2 separate regions of the Homo sapiens genome follow, and region 2 is linked to region 1. Evidence: promoter capture Hi-C in 16 types of primary human blood cells and fetal thymus (Javierre and others, 2016). All regions are on one chromosome and are shown on one strand. The core of a region is centred on a gene start or on the middle of the fragment in contact, and the rest is flanking DNA. Distances in the headings are between cores, read along the strand shown.

Region 1 (7,471 bases), core at 1,635-4,134:
CCAATCTCCTTTTTTTCTATGTTTTTCTCTCATCCCTGCTCAGAGATGGATTCTTCAGTTAACCCTCAGCATCCTCCTGCATCTACAGGGCCCTCATTTTCAACATTTCCATTTCTTAGATTATCTATTTTTATTCATGTTTGGGCTATAATCCCTAAAATCCTAAAATTTTCAGCTTGCCCTCCCTCTATGCCTGAGGTCCACTTCCTGGCATTTCCAGCCTGGGCCTTAGCTTTTTCTCACCCCAGTAGAGGACGATGTCCTGGCCCTCTAGACTGCTGTGCTTCACCCGACAGGACAGGTCAGCTGCCTCCCCAGCGGCCACCTCCAGGGTTGCGCGGAGATACCATGTCCCATCAGCACTGGGCAAGATGTCCCCTCGCTGAGTGCCCTGCTGCTCCTGCTCACCCCGCATCCACATCACCCACACGGGCTTTGGGTAGAATCCTGAGACATGGCACACAAGCTGCAGATGGCCAGGGCCAGGACTGGGGCCATGGGACAGCCAGGCCTCGGGCTTCACTGCAAAGGACAGAAAAGATATTCAAATACAGACTTGGAGTTTCATATCTCCACAACAGTTTAGAAGTTTAGATAGACACATTGTTCCCATTTCTCTTTTTTTTTTTTTTGAGACAGGGTCTCACTCTGTCACTATGCTGCAATGCAGTGGCATAATTATAAATTATAGCTCACTGTAACCTCAAACTGTTAGGCTCAAGCGATCCTCCTGCCTCAGCCTCTTAAGTAACTGGGACTACAGGTGTGTACCACCATGACTGGCTAACTTATTTTTATTTTTTAGAGACACTGGTCTCACTCTGTTGCTCAGGCTGGTCTGGGACTCCTGCCCTTAAGAAGTCCTCCAGCCTCAGCTTCCCAAAGTACTGGGATTACAGATGTGAGGCACTGCACCCAGCCTTTCCCACTTCTGGGTGGCTCTTCCTTATTCTAAATTGGAAGGAGGTGGTGGAAGGGTATGATTTTCAAATCAAAACTTCTTGGAGGGAGAGTGCAGGACTGACCTTGCCGCTGGAGATGTGCCTTTCCTGCATCAAGAAGACCCAAGATGAAACGTGGGCAGGTGTCACTGAGAAGATTGTGTGTTATGTCATTTTCATGCTGATTCTGATTGAGCACTTTGCAGAAATGCTTGGCCATATTCCCAGCCACTGGATATGGCAACCATGAATTGTTCTGGAAGCTCACAAAGTCTGATCCTTGATAAGCTAACTGCAAGAAGCTTCCTGAGACCTTTCCAGAGTGCAGCTCACAGCCTCCTGTCACCTGTATCTCAAAAGGATCTGGGGTTATGAAATAGAGGAAAGAGGGAGAAAAAAATATAAAATGAAATGAGTAGAAGCAAAGATTATAGAAGCAGAAGGGGGAAGTGTGCAGGGTTTGACATAATGGAATAAAATTTGGTTTGGTCAGGGATTCAGAGAAAGAGGAATTGGTGGGAGCTGTAGGTGGAGGAAAAGATTAATAACATGAGGAAGAGGGCAAACTGGTCAAAGAAGGTGATGTGAATGCTGTGGGTGAGCAAGGACCTGGTGTAAGAGAACTGGGATTATAACAACTTAGGTTGAATTAAATGCAATGGGTTACAATTGAGTATATATAGAGAGACTGCTGAAGAGAATGAATGAGAAAGTGAGAAAGCTGAAGGTATCTGGTTGTAGGGCAGGCAGAAGGGTGGTCCTGGGATACCTGTAAGAAAAGATAATAATGCACAACCCTGCAATCAATGAGAGAGGAGTTCATAAGTAGCAGAAGTGTTTGGAGAATTAAGGTCTGGATGATAGCCCTTGCCCAAAAGTATGCAATTGCAGTTTTATGGTGGAAAGAATAGAATAAGATACAGAAGAGAGTCAGGCTGTTTCCTAAAGGAATAAGAAACATTGAGACAACCCCTCTCTCCCACCTCACCACTCTCCATGGAGAAAACTGAACTCACATTCAAACTGCAATTCATGGGCGTATCTACGAATTCCCTCAAATGACCGAATGGTGCGTATACGGAATAATGTTTCCAGTTCCTTCCACTCCTCATTGCTGAAGTTTCCCCTGGACCAGGGGCACAGGAAAACGATGGTGCTGGAATTGCTGTCCCAGGTATGAGTCTGCAAATCACTCAGCCAACCTGAGACCAGATTTTGTTTCCAGGAATGGTTGTAAAAGGATGCGATCCAGGTGACATGGAAGGAGAGAGGCTCCTTGAGCCCTGCGACAAAAGAACAGATAGAATGGGGAGAAAGACATTGAGAAAGAGGATGGAGAGAGAAAGGTGCCAGAGTGCGGGAACTCAGAATCTGGAGAAAAGGGGATCCATCATGATCTTAGCAGACATTCACTTGCCACACAGTCCCATGCCTTATCAACCACCTTCATAAGAGCTCAGGGACCTGGAGTCATGGATAGTCAGAATGGAACCAGCCTGGCACTCTCACTTTCCAGGTATATGCTAGGGAAACCACACACACACACACACACACACACACACACACACACACACACACACAGAGAGAGAGAGAGAGACCTTCACCCACCACCCAACTGGGCAGTTGTCAGAGTTCTTACCGTCTGCATTGCCATCACCTGGGAGAACAGCTAACAATGGAAGTAGCAAAAACAGCATATCATTTGCAGATGTTATTTCCTTCTCTCAGAAAAATTGGTCTTTGATTTCTGTTCCAAACAAACCTACCCCACGATATCTCTATTCTGACTTCTTTCTGCAGCCAACAGACAAACCTCCCCTGACTGCAACAAAGAAAATCCACTCCTTCAAAAACCCTGAGATGCCTACTCAGTCTCTCATTTCCCTCTGGTTCTGACTCTCCTCTCTGTTCCAGCTTCTCTCCTTGTCACCAACCTCCAACTTATTCACCTTCCCCTAATTCAACTGCTATGGAACAAGTCTGATGTGGCATTGAAAAGCCACTTAACCACTAAGGACATTTTTTTCTCAATCATACAATAAGAGCATAAAGTGAAATGGCTCCCAGTGTGCTGCCCAATGCTCCCATGTCCCTGCTCTTTTTGATCACTCTGTCCTTTTCAATATTTTCCCATGTATTCTCTTCCCCTGTCTCTTCAGCCCCTTACTACATTCACATTTCTGATTTAACATTGATTTATTTGCTTTTTCAGAGTCTCCTACGACTGCCCTGTGCGACAGTACAAACTAACACCTTTTCTCCATTATTCTTAGAGAAGAGCCAGTAACCATCACAAAAAAAAAAAAAAAAAAAAAAAAAAAAAAAAAAAAAAAAACCACAGGAACACTAAAACATATAAAGAAAATTTCCTCTGTTTGATTTTCATTGATATACATTCACTCACCCAACAGTCTCTCTTAGCACCTGCCTGGAGTCAAGCATCTTGGTACACTTAAGAATATGCAGTGGTTGACAACACAATCACTTTACTGAAGGAGCTTTTTCTCTACTTAGGGAGAAAAACACGCCATGAAATATAAATCTTGGTGTACTGAGTTTTATTATACTGTATACACTCTCTGGATAAAAACAAGGCCTGCTTGAAATAATATTTTCTAAAATGGGGGCTCCTAACTAATGTACGCCAGCCCAGAATTTTGACTTCAATGTTTGACTTGGAGTGTTAGTTCCATACAGTTATCATACTGTATCCCCACCTAACAGAGTATCTCACAAGTGGTAGGTGCTTAGTGAATATTTGTCAAATGAATGAATGAATTCAGTCTATGCATCCATTTTTTAATTATGGAGGTGATATTCAACATGAAACTTTTTAAAGATATCATAAAAGTTACTTGTAACCCTATGTAGTGAGATGAGAATCTCATACAGTTTTATTTAGGATAAAAGTACAAGTTACTGGCATGAGATTTACATAAAAGATCCTGCTATAAATGTCCTATTACTTATAAGAAACTAGTCAGAACTTGTGAGCAGTGAAGTTAATGGAGTATTCCAAAGTCTTTATCCCAGGATCCCTTTTTATTAGTCCTATTTGGATGTTTCAGGGTTGTTTTGTTATAAATGAGTCTTTGCCGGACACATTTACATTCCTCTTTTACGCTGCTTGTAACTGTTGAAGGGCTTCTAAATATATGTTTGTGCTTTGTAGATATCATCCATATAAATGTGTCTGGGCTATTTACTATTTTTTGGTTTTCAAAAAAAAAGTATCTGAAGCTAATTTAGGGGGAAAAAATTTTTTTTCTTGAGACAGGGTTTCACTCTGTTACTCAGGCTGGAGTGCAGTGGAATAATCATAGCTCACTGTAACCTCCAACTCCCGGCCTCAAGCAATCCTCCTGTGTCAGCCTCCCAAAGTGCTGGGATTGTTGGCATGAGCCACCAGGCATGGCCTGCAAATAATTTTTTTATTTGTTTTTTGTTTTGTTTTGTTTTGTTTTGTTTTGAGACAGAGTCTCACTCTGTCACCCAGGCTGGAGTTCAGTGGCATGATCTCAGCTCACTGCAACCTCTGCCTCCCAGGTTAAAGCAATTGTCCTGCCTCGGTTTTGCAAGTAACTGGGATTACAGGTATGCACCACCATGCCTGGCTAACTTTGATATTATTAATAGAGATGGGGTTTCACCATGTTGGTCTCAAACTCCTGACCTCAGATGATCCACCTGCCTCAGCCTCCCAAAGTGCTGGGATTACAGATAATTTTTTTAAAGTTAAGATTAGCATGCAAAAAGCTGGAAAGAGCTTCATTTTCATACTTATAATTTTTTGAAGCCAGATTATCAAAATCATAACTTGAATTTATCAAAGAACTGAAATATCAAGGCAACCAGTTAACCCAAAATATAAAGAAAGACAGACTCCTCAAAGGACAGATGGAATGCAAACCCTTGTTTACTTGGGACAGATGCCAGATATTATACAAGCCAGTAAGAATAAGAATTCAGCTAAAATTTTAGACAAATTAGTAAAGGCTAGCATGAGTATATAGAAGCCCTGGGAGTCACAAAAACAGGGAAATTCGCATCAGTCTCTAAGCCTTTTTCTATGAACCTCACCAGGGTCTTCTGAAACATTAGGGTCAGAGATGTAGACCAGATAAATCCTCTCTCATGATGCGGGCCTGAGGTATGAGAACAGCTACTGCATGGGAAGGGTAGTAAGTCCCAACCAGACCCATCTCCTCTATTGCAACATAGAAAAAAAAAAAAACCGTGGCCGGGTGCGGTGGCTCACACCTGTAATCTCAGCACTTTGGGAGGCCAACGTGGGCGGATCACAAGGTCAGGAGTTCGAGACCAACCTGGCCAACATGGTGCAACCCCATCTGTAGTAATAATACAAAAATTAGCCAGTTGTGGTGGTGCACACCTGTAGTCTCAGCTACTTGAACCCGGGAGGCGGAGGTTGCAGTGAGCCGAGATCGCGCCACTGCACTCCAGCCTGGGTGACAGAGCAATATTCCATCTAAAAGAAAAAAAAAAGCCCTAACCTGGTGGGGAAAGGGCAGAAAGCCCTGCTGCCCTCAGGGCATATGTGAAAACCCACTGCAGCTGAGGAGAAGAAAAACAATGGGAAAGAACGAGAAAACATCCTGGTTCCAGACTATTAGAGGTCCCAAACTGCTGGAAGAAAGGCAGGAACACTTACATGACAAAACTTCAAAAAATTCAAAAACAACTGACCTGCCTAAGAATGAGACTGCACCAGAACAAAAGACAGTGCTCTTACTCCTTCTCCCAAGCAGTATCATAAATATCAATTACAAGACGAGTCTGCAGCTAGAAGAATGGAAAGCATGGAGGTAGGTCCTCTAGAGATATTTCACAAAGGAAACACCAAAACCTGAGAGTGGAGACATTAACAAAACCTTCTGGCAAACCAGCCCCACCCTAGGAACAGAGCAATGTAGAGGAACTTGAAGACTATTGCAGCAACAGCAAAACAGCAAACCCAGTTAGCTCCAGACTAGATTGACTCAAACCCTCACACTGCAGTTCACTCTTGAATAACATGGGTTTCAACTGTGTGCATTTACTCACACGTGGATTTTCTTCTGACTCTGCCACCACTAAGACAAGGCAACTCCTCTTCCTCCTCCTCTTCTGCCTACTGTACATGAAGACAATGAAGACGAACATGTGATGATCCACTTAATAAATAGCAGATATATTTTCTCTCCCTTCTGATTTTCTTTAAAATATTTTCTTTTCTCTTGCTTACTTTAAGAATATCATATATAATACATATAACATACAAAATATATGTTCATCAACTGTTTATGTTAGCAGTAAGGCTTCCAGCCAATAGTAGGCTATTCATAGTTAAGATTTGGAAAAGTCAAAAGTTATACATGGATTTTTGACTGCACGGGGCCGTCATCACTCCTAACCCCCATGTTATTCAAGGGTCAGCTGTACAAGTTTAGCAAGCTTATCCTGATTTCTCATGTGGAATGGGTCCTGGGAAAACCTTAGAGATATAGGGACTGTAATCCTTAAAAAGCTCTTTTAAAACTTTATGAGGCTTCTCCCTCATTCAAATGAAATAGAGCTGCAGGGACGGCAGACTTCACGCCAAGGTAACAAAATGAGGGCACTAAAGCTAGCATACACACACAAATGTTTCCCAAGTTAATGCAAAGAGCAGGGAATGAAAAGGTGAGAGAGATAGGAAGAGAGGACCAACATTGGTCTGATCAGGCACAAGACATCCGCATGACTGAGACCAAGGTGGAAGATGGCAGAAATGGTTGGGGAAGACTGAGCTAACCAGAGTTGTAGGATGGAAAGTCTGAAAGAGGCAAAATTTTCCGAAGGTTGTAAAGAGACAAAGTCAGGATCATCCCCCAAATAGTGAGTTAATCGGTGTATTGTATATCCCGGGCTTGCTTCATGGGGCACGCAACCAATGCAGCATCATAGTTGATGCCCTATGATCATCATCCTTAAATTCTTCATAATTTTATCTTAATGTGTGTTTTATAAATGAAGTCAAATGAGCCAAAAAAAACTTGTGTGAGGGCTTCTTTGCTGACATGTGGTCTTGGCTCCCATCACTTCACCTCCCCAGCACTGATTCTCTGCCATCTGCTCCCCAATGTCTGGGGCCACAGGCAATTCTTGCCCTCCTGTCCACCACTACCCTGCCACTGTCTGCCCATACAGCCGTCTGATCTCATCAGCAGAGGTGGCCCCTTCTGCCATCACCTTTCACAATTCCCTTGCTTTTGCCAGGGACACAGGGAGAATAAGATTTGGGGGCATGCATCCCACAGTGTCTGCACAGAGGTTGGCTTTAGCCATCCCCACCCAGGCTGCACCACAGAGTGTTTTGAGACAGATCAGGACGACATGCTTTCCCACCCTTGATCCAAGAATCAAGTGCATCTCCATACAGTGGTTGCAATTTCATGGTGGTCACCCATCTGTGGAGGGTTGGAGTGGCCACTGTGGGAAGGAGAGACTGACTTCCTCTTCCCAGCAAGGGGAACCCAGCAGCCAGTGGG
Region 2 (7,447 bases), core at 871-3,370, 99 kb before region 1:
GCTCGGAGATACCATGTCTCGTCAGCATTAGGCAGGACGTCCCCTCGCTGAGTGCCCCGCTGCTCCTGCTCACCCCGCATCCACATCACCCACACGGGCTTTGGGTAGAATCCTGAGACATGGCACACAAGCTGCAGACGGCCAGGGCCAGGACTGGGGCCACAGGACAGCCAGGCCTCTGGCTTCACTAGGAAGAAGAAGATAGAAAAAAAATGGAATTTTGAAGGGCACCCCAGGCCAGAGCTCAGAGACTCAGGTGCCTTTGTAATAATACTAAGAGTGATTTAGTAATCACTTCTTTCTCTTGTCTAAGAAACAGTCCTGAACCCACACATCTCATTCTCTAGTCTCTCACTATGTCTTTCAAAATGATGATGAGAGGCAAATTCAAATATGAGAGTTATAGTACTAGGAACAAGAGGGGAGAGAGAGAGTTGGGCTCACCTTTCCGTTTCAGTTCTGACTCCCCTGCTTCCATGAGCCCCGCTAGAAATCGAGGGCAGGTGTGACCAAGAAGGCTTTGCAGTATTTCCTTAATATCTAGGTAGCGATTGAGCACTTTACAGATGTTCTGGGCCCGGATCCCTGCTCCTGGAGATGGCTCCCAGGAAATTCCTTGGAAACTCAGGAAATCTGACCCTTGATATGCCATATTTAAGAAGATTTGTGGGGCATTCATTCTACAGCCAGCTAATATCTGGATCTCGAAGGGGTCTGAGAGTGGACAGGGAAGAGAGATCATTATGGAAAGAATGACAAGGAAGAAAAACAAACAATTTAGACAGTAAAGAGATTCAAGGGAAGAAAAATTTGCTGGGAAATCATATGGAGACTAGAGTTTACTGGCAAAGGGGAAGAAAATTTGTGGGAAGAAAATTTGAAGATAATAAAGATACTTTGAAATAACTAATGGGAAAGTGGTAGATGGGAAGGCTATCAGGAAGATAGGAGATTGGTCATAAATAATTCACGTGAAAGTGGTTAGGTACAGGCCAGTCCATGTCAACACTCAGGCAAAGGATAAAGAAGGGCAGAAAGAGGGTTGAGAAAGGCTGAGTCTGAGGGCAGGAATGAGGGGCAGAAGATCCAGAGGAGACAATCATTCCAAAGAGCCAGACATGAAGCTATATTCATGTTGAGATATGTACATGCAGGCCCTTTTGTGTATATGGTGGAGTGTGGGTGGTGGTGAAGGGTGAAGCAGAGGAGGGAGTGGGAGTCAGAGAGTGGGGAACAAGGTTAGTAAGGTTAAATGATGGTCAGAGTCTATATACTATCTTCCACTTTGGAAAATAGTTGGTGTTCCCAGGCAAATTATCAGCTTAGAGCAACGAACTTACATTCAAGCTGAAATTGACCAGCAGAAGCTTGCACTATCTGGATAAAACTATGGAAGTATAACTGGAACAGTGACTGTAAGTTTTTCAGCTCCTGCTTGCTGAAGTTTCCATGGGACCAGGGCTTCAGAAAGCGGATGGTGCCCAAGACAGTGTCCCAGCCATGAGTCTGCAGGTCACCCAGCCATCCTGAGCCCTCACTGTGTGCCCAGCTGTGGTTGGCAAAGGAGGAAGTTTGGAGCATGCGGAAGGACAGCTGCTCCTCTGCTGCTAGATGATAGGATTGTAGAGCCTGGGGAGCTGAGAGAGAGGGAAATGACAAGTAGAGAGAATGTAAAGGGATGGGAAAAGTGATGCCAAAGGGAAAAAAGGAACCCAGAGATGAGAGACAGTTAGGTAGCTTGTACATACTCCAATACCCTTTTCCTGTGGGGCCAGCTTCCTTTCTCCAAAATCAGAGACAAAAACTGAGACTGAGAGCAAGAATTCTCTGCCTGGAACTAGCCTGAAAGGCATATTCCAAGGGCATCCTAGAAGAGTACTGCTCCCTTCCCCCAGGACCTCCCCAGAGCTTCCTCTCAGCCCTCTGGTGCCCTACCATAGGTATCTTTCCACCTGCACTCTTCTTACCTGCTGTATTTTCCCCAGGACAGCAGAGACCCTCGAAGAGGAGGAACAGGAGCAGCATTGAAGCTCTGTTAAAGGAGGGATTCCTTGGCAGGACACCTGCCCTAATAATTCAGATATCAGTACCCCTCTCCACACCCTCTTGCACTCTCGTCTGACTTCCCTTGCTGTACAGACAGACAAACCTCTCCCTCTGCTGACTTCCCTGTCAGAGAAGCCACACTGCCTCGCTTTGCTGCAGCCTCCCACGGGGTTTTTCATTTCCCCTCTGCCTCTCTCACTGTCTGGCTCCAGATTTTCTCCCTGCTCTTGTGTACATCCTCCCAACCTCCCTAATTGCACTAACTGCTGGAAAACGAGTCCTGGCTTAAAACAAAGTCTGTGGTCTGGCTAGAAGATGGAGTAGCTTTTGGCCTTGTAGAAATCAAATCCATACTTGGCTTGTCAATAATCTAATCTGTGAGAAGTGATGGTAGTCACTCAGTGGTGCCTAGTGACCTATCCACCAGTCTCCCACTTCTACCTCTCTGTGATCCTCTCCTCCGCCTGTATCTCTTCACTCTGCTCTTGATCATGATCAGAAGACACTCAGCATCCTGGATGTAGCTGCATAATAAGCAGGCAACCCTCCATAATCCAACTCTCTGTGCTGCTGAAAAAGGAGCAGCAATGGCAATGCAGATTATCAGAAAATCTAAAGAAAGCTCCTTTTTTTCAGTTTCCCCAGTCAAGCCAACTGTCACTGTTAAAGTGGTCCATGAGTGGGCTTGACCTGGAAGTGGTGAGCTAGAGGGCAGGTAGATTTCACCCATGTTTTACAGGTGGCTCTGGAGGAAATACATAGGGGACTTGGATCCCCATCTCTACCCAAACGAAGAAAGCATGTCTGGAAGTCTGTGGGCCAGCTTTGCCCTGGGTATGAAGAAAGACTGAGGGCAGGCATGAAGCTCCTCATTAGTTCATGGCCTGAGAGCATTGGAGTCCCCTTGCTTGCGTTCGGTTAGAGAGCAGTTTGGGTGGACACAGGGAAGTACCTTTAGAGGACTGAAGTGTTCACTGGAGAATTAATTGAGTCTTTATTTTTGTTTCTTTTTCATTGATATTTGTTGTGACACTCTGAAGGCAGTTGAAATAACATTCCTTTGTTTGGTTTTTATATATTTGTTCAACTGACATTTATTCAGAGCCCACCTATGACCAAAAACAATTGCCAGGCCCTAAGATATCAGAGATAGACATCTTTGGGAAAAAATAAAACAAAATTCAACCCCAAACCTCTACTTTTCTTATACAGTAAATTTACTGAACGGTGGTCAGAATTATTGAAAAAGGTCCAAACCTAGTTTCATCTTATTATCATTTCTAAATTCTAAGTTAAAAGAAAGATAAAAAGTTTCCTTGTTTCCTGAGTAGAATATCTACATTTATTTTCAATACTCTTTCTGTGCTGGAGAGGTGCTGGAGAGGATGTGGAGAAATAGGAACACTTTTACACTGTTGGTGGGACTGTAAACTAGTTCAACCATTGTGGAAGTCAGGGTGGCGATTCCTCAGGGATCTAGAACTAGAAATACCATTTGACCCAGCCATCCCATTACTGGGTATATACACAAAGGATTATAAATCATGTTGCTATAAAGACACATGCACACGTATGTTTATTGTGGCACTATTCACAATAACAAAGACTTGGAACCAACCCAAATGTCCAACAATGATAGACTGGATTAAGAAAATGTGGCACATATACACCATGAAATACTATGCAGCCATAAAAAATGATGAGTTCATGTCCTTTGTAGGGACATGGATGAAGCTGGAAACCATCATTCTCAGCAAACTATCACAAGGACAAAAAACCAAACACCGCATGTTCTCACTCATAGGTGGGAATTGAACAATGAGAACACATGGACACAGGAAGAGGAACATCACACACCGGGGCCTGTTGTGGGGTGGGGGGAGGGGGGAGGGATAGCATTAAGAGATATACCTAATGTAAATGACGAGTTAATGGGTGCAGCACACCAACACGACACATGTATACATATGTAACAAACCTTCACGTTGTGCACATGTACCCTAGAACTTAAAGTATAATAATAAAAAATAAATAAATAAATAAAAATAATTAAAAAAAGAAAAAAAAACTGCAAACAAAAAAACAAAAGAAAAAGGTCCAAACCTAGTTTCATCTTATTATCATTTCTAAATTCTAAGGTTAAAGAAAGATTAAAAAAAGTTTCCTTGTTTCCTGAGTAGAATGTCTACATTTATTTTCAATACTCTTTCTTTTCTACAAATACATTCAAAGCTATAAGTTGCTATGTAAATCTATCTATAAATCGCTATGTAAATCCAAAATTGGTTTCATAATAAAATTATGAACAGTAAACAAAGATAAATATTCAAGAGAATATATAATAACCTACAAAAACAATAATACATAATAAAAAGATTGGAATGACCTATGCCAAACATCAATACTACAAGTAACTGTATTCCTTAGAATTTTTGTTTTGTTTTGTTTTTTCCTGAGACGGAGTCTTGCTGTCTTGCTCTGTTGCCCAGGCTGCAGTGCAGCCACAGGATCTCGGCTCATTGCAACCCCCGAATCCCTGGTTCAAACGACTCTCCTGCCTCAGCCTCCTGAGCAGCTGGGATTACAGGCAAGAGCCACCATGACCATCTATTTTTTGTATTTTTAGTAGAGACAGGGTTTCTTCATGTTGACCAAGACGGTCTCGATCTCCTGACCTCGTGATCCACCCGCCTCGGCCTCCCAAAGTGCTGAGATTACAGGCGTGAGCAACCGTGCCCCGGCCATTAGAATTTTTGAATCAGGCCAGGCACGGTGGCTCACACCCGTAATCCCAGCACTTTGGGAAGCCAAGGCAGGCGAATTCGAGACCAGCCTTGCCAACATGGCGAAACCCTGTCTCTACCAAAAAAAGTAAAAATTAGCCAGGTGCCATGATGTGTGCCTGTAATTCCAGCTACTCAGGAGGCTGAGGCAGGAGAATTGCTTGAGCCTAGGAGGTGGAGATTGCAGGGAACTGAGATTGTGCCACTGTACTACATCCTGGGCAGGAGAGTGTGACTCTGTTTCAAAAAAAAAAAAAAGAGGGAGAATTTTAAAATCATTTGCAAAGTAAAATAAAGCAAAGTATATTTAGAGAATAAAACAATGTTGTTATTCCACAAAAAATTGCACTTTTATGTAAGTAAAGATAACCACACCCTAGTTTTTAATTTTGAGGCTACAGAACTCACAGATAACTGCAAATTACTGAGCAAAGTAGAAATAATGTCTGACAGCAACCCCATAATCATTAACAAAATAATGAAATTCCTTCTAAATTAAAATTATCCAGAAGATAAATTCCAAAGAAAAAATATATATTAATTTTAATTTTTGTAACATTATATGGTACAATTATTTCCTTCCTGCTTTACAAAATTCCATCAGTGGGCCAGGCACAGTGGCTCACTCCTGTAATCCCAGCACTTTGGGAGGCCGAGGCAGGCAGATCAGGAGGTCAGGAGATCGAGACCATCCTGGCTAACACGGTGAAACCCCTCTCTACTAAAAATACAAAAAAATTAGCAGGGCGTGGTGGCACGTGCCTATGGTCCCAGCTATTCGAGAAGCTGAGGCAAGAGAATCGCTTGAACCTGGGAGGCAGAGGTTGCAGTGAGCCAAGATTGTGCCACTGCACTCCAGCCTGGGCAACAGAGAAAGACTCCGTCTCAAAAAAAAAAAAAAAAAAAATATTCCATCAGTGCCTAACCACATTTTTTACTAAAAATACTTAGTGTCTGTGGCCAGAGGTCTCTTTTAAAAAGAAATTCCCCCTCTTATGTTTTCCTGAGGCTGCCCCAGTCACATTCGCAGATCCCCTTTTGCCAAAACCAGAAAATTCTCTCAAAACATATTATAAGATGTGCCTTTGGACAACTTAATCTTTCTATGTAAGAAATTTATGGGAGATAACTCATTAAAATTGATTTAAAATAAAATTTTTGAGTACATTTGTACAAATGTAAGAAAATGTTCCATCTGCTAATTTTTTTTCAAAGAATTTAAATACGAGTTTTATTCTTTTGGCTTATTTTCAGGAAAGATTGCAATTTCTACATACTTATTTTCTTGTTTGTGTATACTTACATTTCTTTAACATTTATTCAAATATATTTTTCAGCTTTAGTGAGGTACAACCAACAAATAAAAATTGAGTATAAAAAAGTATTTATTGCCACTGAGCTGTACATTTTAAAATGGTGAAGATGATAAATTATATATTTATATTCTACCTTAATTTTTTTTAAATTGGGTATACTTAAGGTGCACAACATGATGTTATGATATATGTATATACTGTGAAGTAATCGCCACAGTCAAGTTATTACCATATCCATCACTTCACATAGTTACATTTTTTCTTTTTTTTTTCTTTTTGAGACGGATTCTCACTCTGTCACCCAGGCTGGAGTGCAGTGGCATTGAGAGGTGACAGCGTGCTGGCAGTCCTCACAGACCTTGCTTGCTCTCGGTGCCTCCTCTGCCTGGGCTCCCACTTTGGCAGCACTTGAGAAGCCTTTCAGCCCGCCGCTGCACTGTAGGAGCCCCTTTCTGGGCTGGCCAAGGCCGGAGCCGGCTCCCTCAGCTTGCAGGGAGGTGTGGAGGGAGAGGCGCGAGCGGGAACCTGGGCTGCGGGCGGTTCCAGCTGGAGTGCAGGGTGGGCGTGGGCTTGGCGGGCCTGCACTCGGAGCAGCCAGCCGGCCCTGCCGGCCCCGAGCAATGAGAGACTTAGCACCCGGGCCAGCGGCTGCGGAGGGTGTACTGGATCCCCCAGCAGTGCCAGCCCACCAGCGCTGTGCTTGATTTCTCACCAGGCCTTAGCTGCCTCCCCGTGGGGCAGGGCTCGGGACCTGCAGCCCGCCATGCCTGAGACTCCCACCCCCTCCATGGGCTCCTGTGCGGCCGGAGCCTCCCCGATGAGCGCAGCCCCCTGCTCCACGGCGCCCAGTCCCATCAACCACCCAAGGGCTGAGGAGTGCGGGTTCACGGCGGGGGACTGGCAGGCAGCTCCATCTGCAGCCCCAGTGCAGGATCCACTAGGTGAAGCCAGCTGGGATCCTGAGTCTGGTGGGAACGTGGAGAATCTTTATGTCTAGCTCAGGGATTGTAAATACACCAATTGGCATTCTGTCTCTAGCTCAAGGTTTGTAAACACACCAATCAGCACCCTGTGTCTAGCTCAGGGTTTGTGAATGCACCAATGAACACTCTGTATCTAGCTACTCTGGTGGGGCCTTGGAGAACCTTTGTGTCCACACTCTGTATCTAGCTAATCTGGTGGGGACGTGGAGAACATTTGTGTCTAGCTCAGGGATTGTAAACTCGCCAATCAGCACCCTGTCAAAACAGACTACTTGGCTCTACCAATCAGCAGGATGTGGGTGGGGCCAGATAAAAGAAT

The links. Contacts are between HindIII fragments. The CHiCAGO score rates a contact against its expected background, and 5 or more counts as called.
Region 2: the fragment with the promoter of CD1E here is called in contact with the fragment with the promoter of CD1A in region 1 in 1 of 17 cell types (fetal thymus); the score reaches 5.0 in fetal thymus.

The regions. Positions count from the first base shown.
Region 1 is chr1:158,249,837-158,257,307 of GRCh38, reverse strand. It overlaps CD1A (CD1a molecule), which reads right to left and starts at 2,884. Exons shown (of 6, transcript NM_001763.3): 1 at 2,581-2,884; 2 at 1,958-2,224; 3 at 1,026-1,304; 4 at 244-522. The coding sequence starts at 2,638. The HindIII fragment of the contact is 5,152 bases long and covers 1,246-6,397 here.
Region 2 is chr1:158,348,567-158,356,013 of GRCh38, reverse strand. CD1E (CD1e molecule) reads right to left here and starts at 2,120. Exons shown (of 6, transcript NM_030893.4): 1 at 1,968-2,120; 2 at 1,341-1,637; 3 at 445-714; 4 at 1-187. The coding sequence starts at 2,025. The HindIII fragment of the contact is 6,143 bases long and covers 1,370-7,447 here.